Regions from separate parts of the Homo sapiens genome. Here region 2 is linked to region 1. The links are contacts of gene promoters, found by promoter capture Hi-C in blood cells and fetal thymus (Javierre and others, 2016). All regions are on one chromosome and are shown on one strand. The core of a region is centred on a gene start or on the middle of the fragment in contact, and the rest is flanking DNA. Distances in the headings are between cores, read along the strand shown. Region 1 holds the start of PTTG1IP2 (PTTG1IP family member 2). Region 2 overlaps CDK14 (cyclin dependent kinase 14).

Region 1 (6,046 bases), core at 1,911-4,410:
TCCATCCATTCACCAAGGCCATCAGGAATGTGCTGGTAAGAAGGGCACCAACATCACTAAAAAATTCAGCAGCTCCCCTCTGCAAGCCAAAACTGACAGTAGAGGCAGTCACAGAGCTGAACTCATTAACATCTATGGGGATAGTGGGGTTCTCAAAGTAATAGAGTAATAATGTTTCACCACAGAAGCTGTTTCAGGATTCCAAATTTTCCCAACCCAAGCTCTTACCTTTAGCATACAGACCTGCCTGGCTGGTATCATCAAAATGTCTCTGGAGCTCTGTCCATCGGATAGTGAGTAAACAAATCTCAAAATTTTATCTTACCACTGGTTCTGTCAGAACACTCAGTAGCATTTGTATTAGCTCAGGTCCTTCAAGATCTGCTAAGATGGGATTAGAAGTCCAAGAGTTTTACTGGGGAAACACAAAAAATAAAGCAGAGGCCAGGCACAGTAGCTCATACCTGTAATCCCAGCACTTTGGGAGGCTGAGGTGGGCGGACCACCTGAGGTAAGGAATTTGAGACCAGCCTGACCAACATGGAGAAACCCCGTCTCTACTAAAAAAAAAATACAGAATTAGCCAGGCATGGTGGCACATGCCTGTAATCCCAGCTACTTGGGAGGCTGAGAGAGGAGAATTGCTTGAACCCAGGAGGTGGAGGTTGTGGTGAGCTGAGATCGCGCCATTGCACTCCAGCCTGGGCAACAAGAGAGAGCAAAACTCTGTCTCAAAAAAAAAAAAAAAAAGAAAAGAAAAGAAAAGAAAAGAAAAGAAAAAATAAAGGGGAAGGAGCTAGTGCAGGTGAGAACCTTCAGACAGCAATGCAGGTCTGACATCAGTGAAGAGAGAGGAAAGGAGGAAGGAGAATTTGGTTGGTAGAGTTTCAGAGTGCAGCACAATTCTAAGAAAGTTTCAACCACTTTGATGGGGAATTTTCAAGCCAAAATCTTCCACTAAAAGTATCCCATATTAGTACTCCTTCCCATGTTTAGTCTTGCCTGAGAGTAGCTTGTAGGAAGCATGGCCTTGAGATGAATATGGTGGATACATCTGAGGGACAGCAGCTGAGTCCATCAGTCAATTTTAATTTGATATGGGCATTTTAATGGCCATATTCAACATAGTCTTTTTTTCTTTTATTATTATTATTTTGAGACAGGGTCTTGTTCTGTCACCCAGGCTGGGGTGTAGTGGTGCAATCTCCGTTCACTGCAACTTCTGCCTCCTGGGCTCAAGTGATCCTTGCACCTCAGCCTCCTGAGTAGCTGGTGCACACTACCATGCTGGTTAATTTTTTGTGTTTTGTTTTGTTTTGTTTTGTTTTTTGTAGAGACAGGGTTTCACAATGTTGCCCAGGCTGGTCTTGAACTCCTGGAGTCAAGCAATCTGCCTGCCTCAGCTTCCCAAAGTACTAGGATTATAGGCATGAGCCAACGTGCCCATCTCCCACATAGACTTATGATGGCTTTTAGCAGCTACAGAGACTAAGTCCTTCCAAATTTGAATCCAGAGGAAGACAAGCATCTTTATCCTAGCATTCCTAGCAAAAGCTCTGAGATTGACTTGGATTAGACCAACCTAGGTCATGTGCCCCACTCCTGAGCCAGGCATGGTGGCCAGGGAAGTTTTATGACCTGCTTTGCTCAGGTGTAGTTTTCATGTCCTACTTCCAAAGTAGGAGTTGGAACTCCACCCATACCATGAGAACTGAGAGGCAATGAGGGGCAGGTCTCCAAGAAACAATATGAACATAGAATATATGTATTTTTCATTTTAATGGCTGCTTTAGAAAGCAACAAGTTTGCTTTCTAAAGACACTGTAACAATTTACAGTTCCTCCAAAAAGTATAATAGTACCTTTTCCCCCACAACTTCACCAATGATATCTTAGTTTTCTTTTTAAATGCTTGCCTACCTGATGTTTACATTATTAGTTTTAATTTATAATTTCCTAGTTCCTAGTACTAGTGTTTCTAAACTATTTTTTTCATATATTCATTGGCTACTTGGATTTGCTTTTCTGTCCATGGATTCTCCACATCTCTTGTCCGTTTTCCTATTGTTTATCTTTTGTCCTTTTTTTTGTCAATTTATAAAAGCACTTTTTATATTATAGCTAATAACCCTCTGTCTGTCCTCTGCATTGCAAATGGGTGAAGAAAAATTAGCCTGGAACTCTGCACATCTTCTCCTCCTCCATCTTTATTGTCCATACTAGACCCATAGTCCTCAGGATGCAGTCTAGATCAATATGCCAGGAATACTATGGGAAAACTGCAACATTTGTTTTTTAAATTTTTTTAAATAATTTTTTTAGAGAAAAGGTCTTGCTTTGTTGCCCAGACTGGAGTGCACTGATGCGATCATAGCTCACTGCAGCCTCGAACTTCTTGGCTCAAGCGATCTTCCCACCTGATCGTTTTTGAAAAACAAAACAAGATAATTCCTGGTCAAGGACAAGTTTTCATCACCCACCTCTACCCCTCCCCAACCACACATACTGGGGCAAGATTGCTCAAATTTCAGTCATTCTGGAACCACCTCCCCAATTTTTGCCATATCCTTTAAGTTGTGTACTATTTATATTTCTGAAAATTGTCCTTTTTGCACAGATTTATTTTAAAAGCATATATCGTTGCTATTACATCATTGTAACTACTGGTTATATTTTTCCAATACGCATTAAAATAAATTCATAACTATGAAAATAAAAGACATTTATGTACTACCCAAAACATACCTACCTTTAGGAAACTGCATTAGAGCACGTCAATAGGATCACCAGGCTAGTCAAGGACAAGACCAAGGGTTTACAGAGCTGTGAGTTTCACGGCCTTACCACTCATTGATCGCACAACCACTCCCATGGAGTGCAGTGGGTGGTAGGTTCATTTACATCAGAGAAAAGGCAGCATGGAAGAGTGCAACTTCTGTACACATATTCAAGTAGTGAGAATTAGAATCCAGGTCTTTCTCCAAAAAACAACAATGTAGTAGGGAAAAGTGTTGATTTGGGAGAAATAGACCTCAGTCAAGTCCAGTGGACCAACTGTACATGGTATTCAGGGCCCAGGAAGCTGGACCCAGTGCCGACGAGGATTGCACTATGAACATTCTACATTCTGGCTAGAACATTAGGGATTCTAAGGTTCTGCTGATTATGCTGGCATCCAGGGCTTGCAAGTGGCAGCTTCAGCACCCAGGGCTGTGGTAGGTCACAGTCTCTGGGCGGGTCTCAGTGTCCAACACTGTAGCTGGTGCCTGCCAGGTTCCCAGTGGCTGGGGTCACCAGGTCTGAAGAGAGATGTGCTGGCTGCGGGCATGGGGCCAGATCCTCCTGCCAGTTTTCCTCTCCCTCTTTCTCATCCAATTGCTTATCAGCTTCTCAGAGAATGGTTTTATCCACAGCCCCAGGAACAATCAGAAACCAAGAGATGGGAATGAAGAGGGTGAGTGATCTGGAGTCCTGAGGTGGGTGCCCCACATGCTCCAGCGTTTTTTTTCCTTTTAATGGTGCCATCCTGGTGCACTGGAATTTTCATCTCAAAAGTTGTCATTTGGTGTTGGTGGGAAGACATTTTAAAGGTTCTAGATGGTTTTGGTGAAACTCAGTTAAATTGGACTCAGATTAATTTGGTTTATCTGAAATATGAAAGGTAGATTCAAAGTTTTAAATTTGAGGAAAAGCATGGTTTCTCCCCCATCACTTTCTGCATGACCTATGACATATAAGCTTTTTGTTGTGAATAAGCCATTGGGTTTTGTTCTAATCAGACCCACTCAATGGTCATAGTTCCTCTTTCTTAAGTTTTTTAAGGTCTTAGTTAATAAAATGCTTTATTTGTTCTTTTTCATAAAAAAATTACTTCAGTTTGGAGGCCTCTCTCGATTTCCTTCCAAATTGAAAAAATTTTGAAATGTTAAAAGTCATGCTGAGTTAAATTCATGAACCTGGAAATAAGGTTTTAAGTATCCTAAATTGGAACCGTATAGACAAAATAAGAGACAGAATTTGAATTACTTGGAAAGTGCCCTGTAAAGCCAAGATTGCCATTTTTACAAAGACAATGAGACAGAATAATTACTGCTGTCTGGTTTCCAGAGTAGAAAAGAATGTTAGTATCTGTAAGCAAATCAGTCTTCCTTACTAAAACCAAATCCACAGTTCTCAGCGTTGCACTGAAATAAGAATCTCCTTCGAGGGGGTAGGGTTGGGGCGACGCTGAATTAAAAGAGCTAGCTTGTTTTCTTTGGTTTCATCTTTCCCACAGATTTCTCTTTTTTAACCTCTTGGTCACCTCTATACATACTCTAAGAGAAATAGTGTTCCAGTGCCATCCTGGCCCCTTCTCCCAACAAACAGCACCTGAAAGCATAGGCCCAAACATAAAAACAAATTCTTCCTTTTGTTCCCTAGCAAACTGGACTCATACCGGAAATTTTTCACGTCTTAAGACTTTATCAAAATGCTGATGAAGAACAAAAAAAAAAAAAAAAAGAAAAAAGAAAGAAAACAAATAAAATAAATCAAAAATCACATCTAAGATAATCTCCAAAGATGGAAGTTTCTGTTGCTAGCTAGCTCACTTCTAGGGCTGGCCAACTGGAGCCCATGTTTCTAAGGAAACACCTTGCCTGCCAAGGGCCTCTCCTGAATGCTTGCATCTTAGTCTCAGGCCAGTTCCCCTTAGTGCTTGCATTTAATCTTCCCATCTAACAAGGATATGGTTTCTTAGACATCATGATACTTTTCACTTCCAAAACTGAAAAGGGGCTTCTAAGCCTTCACGAGATCCTCATCTATGTCCCAGATTGTGCCCTAAGTGACAGGCAACAGACAGGACTTTGTGAAGGATTGCACATCAAGTGAGACCTCCCCCTAAGCAGGTTGTTTTGATCCCCAGGACTTCTATCTCTGATGTTCATTTACATTTGAGAGCTTAGTAATCAATATCTCAAGAAATTATAGAAAGCACTTGATGCAACTTTGGGTTAATCTTCTAGAATCTAATGACTGGATTAAAAAATATACTGAAACCTAGAGAATTTTCTTCACTAAAAGTAACCAGACAACAAAGGGGCATAGTGCAAAAAATAAGTGGCAACTAAGGAAAGAACTGGAAGATTCTAGATCAGAACAGAATAGCACAGCATGGCAAGACTCCAAATGTTGCCACTCTCCCTTAGAGGTAACTAGTGAGTTACTATAATCCAATAATTTTTATTAATTCTCCCAAATCTGGAGAGAAACAAGTTGAGGGGGTATCCATTCTTTTTCTTATTCCGAAGATGAGAAGAGGAAATGGCTACTGCAGAGAAATAGGTGGAATGAGGACCTGAAGAGAGAGGGCCTGACTCTCTGAAGGAAACTCAGGTTCCTGCGTTACAAGCTGGATTTGAGGGTGGATCTAGAGTCCAAAGATACCCCTTCATGGAAATGGGAAACACCTCTGATAAGCTCTAGCAAACCTTGGCACTGGAAAATGACAAACCTCAAAAGAGAGAGCAGAGTCAGATATTCTAACAAAGCCTGGCACAGCCTCATTTGAGTTCTCCCCCTTGTCTAATGCTGAAAACAATGGAGTGAATAGAACATAAAATGCCATAAAACTGTAGCTTCTTGAAAAAAATCTCAAGGATCATGGTAAGGTGGTTAGGATCTCACCTACACTATATCAGAACAAATGGAAGGTCTGAACAGAGCTGTGCAAGCATTAGTAGAATGAAAACAATAGAGCAACTATGTAAACCCTGCACAGCAAAATAAAGAAATAAAGGAGTATACGATAGCATGCAAACACACACACACACACACACACACACACACACACACACACACCCCAAATAATCTACCCTAGAAGAGAACACAACTCAAGAAACATGAAAATTTCCCACAAGTGCTTTGAGCTAGAGAACAATCAAACGAGAAATATTCAGTGAAACAAGCCTCGAAGTCGATAGCAAGATATCAGAATGAAATTAAAAGGCAGATAGCTCCAAGGAAATAAATTGAAGGCCAAATAATTTGAATATAAGGCAAGG
Region 2 (6,046 bases), core at 1,513-4,012, 550 kb after region 1:
AATTAATTGAGGGAACATGTAATGAAGACTCAATCTGAAGAGGTTTTTTAGCTTTGCACAGGAGGGAATTCTAGAGAGCATTTTCAACCCTGCATGAGTCTGTGTGACTAGCGAAATAACTATTAAAAATAGGGAAATTGAACTGGAAAGTAGGTGACCTAATTTTTTCTTCTTTTATAGTTACATATGTGGTGAGAGTACCTTACATAAACTCTTCTGGTATTTAAGCTGAGGACGGTTTTATTAGTTGTCAAGGTATTAGAACCTTGAAATATCACACTAGATGACATCTCTTGTCTGTCTACTTGTCCCATTACCAGAATTCACATTCAGTTTATCATAATCCAGTGCTGATTTTTGAAGTCACATATTAGAAAAACCAAAGTTTTAATACATACATTCCTGGTAATGAGGAGTTGGGGGTTGGGGAACAAGGGAGCAGAATTTAACTGTAAAATTACACTTTTTTGTTTATATTAAGCTGTGCACTAGTTGGCCCCCTTGCTTTCTCAAATTAGCTTATATTTCAGGGATTTTTCTCTTTTGCAACTCAACATTTTATTATAGACAAGAGAAATCTGAAACACAAAGGTAATCCAGAACAGAATTTGATATTACTTTGTGAACTTTTCGTTCCTTTCTTGGAGTCAAACATGAGATCATGTTTAGAATGATTTAGCCCATGTTCTTTTTCCAAGAGTTTTAATAAATGAGTTTAGAGTTACCAACTATAAAACATACAATGATGATGATTTTTCCCTTATTTTTATTAGAAGACTATGTTGTGACCAAGCTAAGTGTGATGTAGAGGTAGCAGTAGTATTAAACAAGCATAGGGATTCTGAAAGCACTAAGCAAGCTAATATATCAAACAGCCATACCATGGGTTCATTGTCATTAAAGTAGGTTAGCTGCCAGTAAAGGTTAGCTATGTGTATTGTTACTAATAGAAGTTTGTTCGATTTCAGATATAAATATTAAATTCCATTATGGTGCACGCCCCAGCATGGGTGAGGAGCCTGAGTGTCCACCTGCCTAGCTGTATGGACCGACCATTTCTAAAGATGCCTGGTTGACTGGGGCAAGGGCCAACTGTGAAATCCCCTTTCAGTTTTTCAAAGTCTATGATTAGTTCCTTGTTGATATGAAAATTCATATTGCTTGCTTGCAGCTAAGTCTTTGAAACCTATGTCCATTGTCACTAATTTTCCTTATTAGCATACTTAGTATTTTTCTCTTATAGGAGTCTATCTATCTTTATGTAATAGATAATATTCTGTGTAATGTGTCATTTGACTTTGCCTTAATCTATTTGTGTTTTTGCTAATTTTTTTTCTGCTTTATATGAAGTCCAGATACTTTAATCTCTTCTTATCTGTGTCAACCTTACTTGCCCATTGTTCCTCTTTAACAAATCAGATCAGTTTTCTTACTAATTAAGGTCATTCTTATTTTTCTTTCCTTGAGCATTAACTCCTTCCTCAAGACACTCCCTGTTTTCACTCCCTTACCCAAGTTCTGTACATTCTTCACTGCTATGGGGTCTTTAGCCCCAGGATGCTCTTCCTTTTCATAATTACTCTTCACTGGCAATTCAGATCAAACAGATTGTACTTACCCTATATGCCATCTGCTCCCAGAATTGCTCACAATAATTGAAGATGTATCCTGTAGCATTCATCTTCCCAATGAATAGGTTTGTTGGGTCTCCCTACCCCAGCAGAGTATGTCTTGGGTTTTTTTTTTTTTTTTTTTTTTTTGAGACTGTGTCTCGCTTTGTTGCCCAGGCTGGAGTGCAGTGGCATGATCTCGGCTCACTGCAAGCTCCGCCTCCCGGGTTCAAGCCATTCTCCTGCTTCAGCCTCCCGAGTAACTGGGACTACAGGCACCCGCCACCATGCCCGGCTAATTTTTTGTATTTTTTTTAGTAGAGATGGGGTTGTCTTGGTTTTTTTATACCTTACTTCATGGAATATGGGTATGAATCAGTTCTGTGTTTATATACCAAAAAAAAAAGGCATATAAACATTTCACAAAAATATTTGTTAGATTTTCAACAAGCATCCTAAAATGATAGTTGATGATTTACATGTTAGCAGATTACTATGTTTTAATTACATTTTGGGAAGTTGATTGGGATTTTGGGGTTGACATGTACTATATCAAAATATTTCTCATTTAAAGTAATGGGAAATAGGTTATCAGTATTTTCATGGAGAACATTGGCTTTTCAGATATGGATAACTGACCTAAAGTGAGCAATGCCTATATGAACCATCATTAAATAAATAGATCCCTGCTGCTAACACCCTGGAGGATGTTGTGTGGAGCTACATAGAGCTGCCCACAAGAAAAGCAGCCCTACAACCAGTATCTACCTTCAGAACAATGCCTGTAGGTTAGCACTTCTTCCATTATGAATTTTGATTTGAGAATATTTGAAAACCAATGTGTTTTCTCTGCTGACAAAACATAGTACTCTAACATGTTTGTTTCTACCAATCACCCTTTACACACGCCTCTCATTTTACCATGATTTTTTGTGGCCTTTCAGGAATCACAGACTGAATTTTGTATTCCTCAATTTAGACGGTCCTAAACATGCTCTCATATATTGATGAAAAGCCATCAAGCCATTATCCTAGGTGGTACAATGAACTAGATAGATACTTAAATTTAGATTATACCCTGTTTTATGGTACCATATGGCTCCAGCTAGACTATCAACCTCTTTTGAAAGTGAGTTATGCATTTTAACTACCCCTCCTCAGCCCACCCAACCTGGTTTTCAATTATTTCAGATGTTGAGGGAGTACTTCTTGAGAGCTTTGCAGTTCAGGTCTTAAGCAGAATTGTAGGGTGCGTTTGAAATTTGAATAACATATTTATCTCTGACCTTGCTGTGGCAAATCCACTGCTACTATGTATGCTAGGTAGTTTTTATATTCATCATCTATAGCATGTTTTAAGGTTTCGGAACCTAGATTCTATTAGAGGAATAGGAGTGATATTTTTTCATAAGCCAAACTTTCAAACAAAACTAAACAAAGCATTGTCTATAGTAACTTCGCATACACCAGTGAAGGCACAGAAGATGACCTAGAAGGGACCTTTGCGAAAGCCTCCCAAAAACTTCATTGGGCCTATTTTTCCTATTAAGAAAAAGAAGAAAGGGAAATAAGCAACAAAATGATATTAAGGAAGAAGGCAGGCAAAATTCCTATGGGGCTCTTTTTTGACTGTTCTTGAGCCCCCAGTGGTGTTTCCTTTCTTCACTTTATCTGCTGGAATGTATTTGTAATGAGCAAAAATAATTTAAGTACACAGGTCTATTTTCTATGAAGTTAATACTTCTTAGTGAGATATATTTCACTTTTTAAGAGTGATTGACTTAAGAATTTATTCCCCACTGTTTTCTCCAATAGAAGAAGCTCTTTAAGATATATAAAGGAAAAAAGCTAAGTACAAACTAGGTCTAAGTTCACATTAGAGGAAGGAAGAGAAAGTGGCTAAACAGATGGACATGATACAATATCCAGGGCATGCAGGGAGGATTTCTAGCTGGTGGTTTCTTACAGGGCTCAGGACTGGGCCTATGCTAACAGACTCACTTTTTATTAAATACTCTCAAATATTGTTAATTGTTATTTTGTTTTTCATATGTGATATTTTCCTAATAATTTTTAAAGTTGGAGTTTAAAATGCTTTTAGAGAGATGAACTCTTTTAAAACAAGGTATCTCCAGGTCAGCTTTCATATACACTTTAGGCTCAGCAGTAGGTGCTTGGTGGTGCTGCCTGAATGATGGACTTTTGGTCTGTGTATTGCTATTATTGATTACTTCAGATGGTCGATAGGTGTTTGTGTTTGACATAGACAGAATAAATGGGCACTGCTATATGATGGATGAGTATCACAGCGTCTGGAAGGGCTCTGCCTTCACATAACTCTTTTAGGAAGGGCTAACACCAGTGTGTTCTGATATTGCTTTTGTTCTCTGAGTAGGTGAATCTGTGCACAGAGATAACAAGCCCTTTTGAATTACAGGGCCACTAGGGTACAAATGCTAGCCAGCCTTCCAGATTATTTTCATAACTAAAAATGGGCTGCAAACCAGCTTCATCCAATTTCGGGGATTGGATGAAACCAAATTAGATCTACTGTGCATCAGACAGAGGTTGTGCTGGCAAACAGCAGACATATAAATGTGACCATGTTTCCTAAAAGAGGCATGGGGGACAGTGGTATTTCTGAGTGAATTTATAACTGATGACGTAAATGGCAAGTACATACATACTGGATAAATTTGAAATCTTCAGTACAAAGGAAGCAAAAGAAACAGGAAGGAAAGGAAGCCATCTTTGTTCTAAAGCCTGAGGAGCAGTGTGATCTTGTAGAAAGAACCTAGGCCTTTGGGTGTGAGCTCCCCATTCTTCTTCTTCCTCTTCCATTTACTAGCTGTTTGTCCTCATACAATGAACTTCACTTCCTGACCCTTGTCTGTATCATGAACATAAGAGAACTGTCTTAGTCTCTTTGAGTTGCCATAACAAAATACCATAAGCTGGGTAAATTATAAACAATGGAAACTTACTTCTCATAGTTCTGGAGGCTGGGAAGGCCCTGGCATATTTGGTATCTGATGAGGGCCCTCTTTCTCACACAAAAAAATTAATAAATAAAAAATATCTTCTTGCAGAGTCTACACATGGTAGAAGGGGAAAACTCTATCTCCTCAACTCCTTACAAGGGCATTGATATGGTTTGGCTGTGTGTCCCCACCCAAATCTCATGTCGAATTGTAATCCCCAGTGTGAGAGGAGGGGCCTGGCAGGAGGTGATTGGATCATGGGTGGATTTCCCCCTTGATGTTTGCATGATAGTGAGTGAATTCTCCCAAAATCTGGTTGTTTAAAAGTGTGCAGCACCTCGCCCTTCTCTGTCTCTTCCTCCTGCTCTAGTCACGTAAAACGTGCCTGCTTCCCCTTCATGTTCCTCCATGATTGTGAATTTTCTGAGGTCTCCCCAGCCATGTTTCCTGTACAGCCTGTGGAACAGTGAGCCAATTAAACCTCTTTATAAATTACCCAGTTTCAGGTATTTCTTTATAGCAGTGTGAGAATGGACTAATACAGACATTAATCCCATTCCTGAGGACTCCACCTTCATGGCTTAATCGCCTCTCAAAGGCCAAATCTCCTAATACCATCACATTGGGGATTAGGTTTTAGCCTGTGAATTCTGGGGGGACATAAACATTCAGACCACAGGAAGTGCCTAACTTATTAGGATCATTGTGATGATTGAAGATAATACATAGAAAGAGAGTTTTTAGCAGACAGAGCCTGGCATATAGTAAACTCCAATAAATAAGAAGAATTTGCTGTTCTTGTTGGCAGAGATGCAGCAGCCACTGTCCTGAGCTGGCTTTCTCTTCATCATCCCCATCATCCCTGGTAGACTGGCTTGCTCCTGTGAATGGACAGCTCCATTCAACTAATGGCTTCCTGGGACTACTTCTTTCATGTCTGTAACGTTAAGCTTTAGCACTCCTACTGCATCCTTACCCAGGGAAAATTACACCAAATAGATCTAGCTTTGATCTGTTTTCAATTTTGACTGAATTATGAACAATAATACATGATTTTAAAGTATAGCCAGAGACTCCAGGCTACAAAAATTCAAAATCTTTTTAGTCTTTTTAGATCTTGAAAGTAGATGATTAACCATTGTCAGCTCTATATTGACTTGGGCTTTCTTGGCTATTGAACTTCTGGCTCCAATTCACACCTCTATTCTCCCTTTAAACCTGTATAATATATTTTTTTGTAATGCCTTAATTTCAGAAGTACATATTTATGCATTGGTTTTGTTATTTTATCAAAATTATGATATTTGATATCATAAATCCTAAAAGCTGCTTTTAGCATAGTGATTACAAAGCATCCTATGACCAACAAAGGGACTACTAAAGGATTAATTATACCTTTCTTTACTGCTTAGGGCTTTCTTCCCCCAGAATGCCATTGCTGTGAAATACCATGCT

Evidence for each region. The method cuts DNA at HindIII sites, captures the fragments that hold promoters and counts their contacts. A CHiCAGO score of 5 or more calls a contact.
Region 2: a fragment that was not itself captured here is called in contact with the fragment with the promoter of PTTG1IP2 in region 1 in 1 of 17 cell types (M2 macrophages); the score reaches 5.6 in M2 macrophages.

Annotation. Positions count from the first base shown.
Region 1 is chr7:90,466,479-90,472,524 of GRCh38, forward strand. It overlaps PTTG1IP2 (PTTG1IP family member 2), which reads left to right and starts at 3,161. Exons shown (of 7, transcript NM_001365443.2): 1 at 3,161-3,453. The coding sequence starts at 3,309. The HindIII fragment of the contact is 9,262 bases long and covers 1-3,735 here.
Region 2 is chr7:91,013,786-91,019,831 of GRCh38, forward strand. All of the region lies in intron 10 of CDK14 (cyclin dependent kinase 14), which reads left to right. Among named protein-coding and RNA genes, the nearest start is that of FZD1, 250 kb to the right of the region's middle. The HindIII fragment of the contact is 5,554 bases long and covers 1-5,539 here.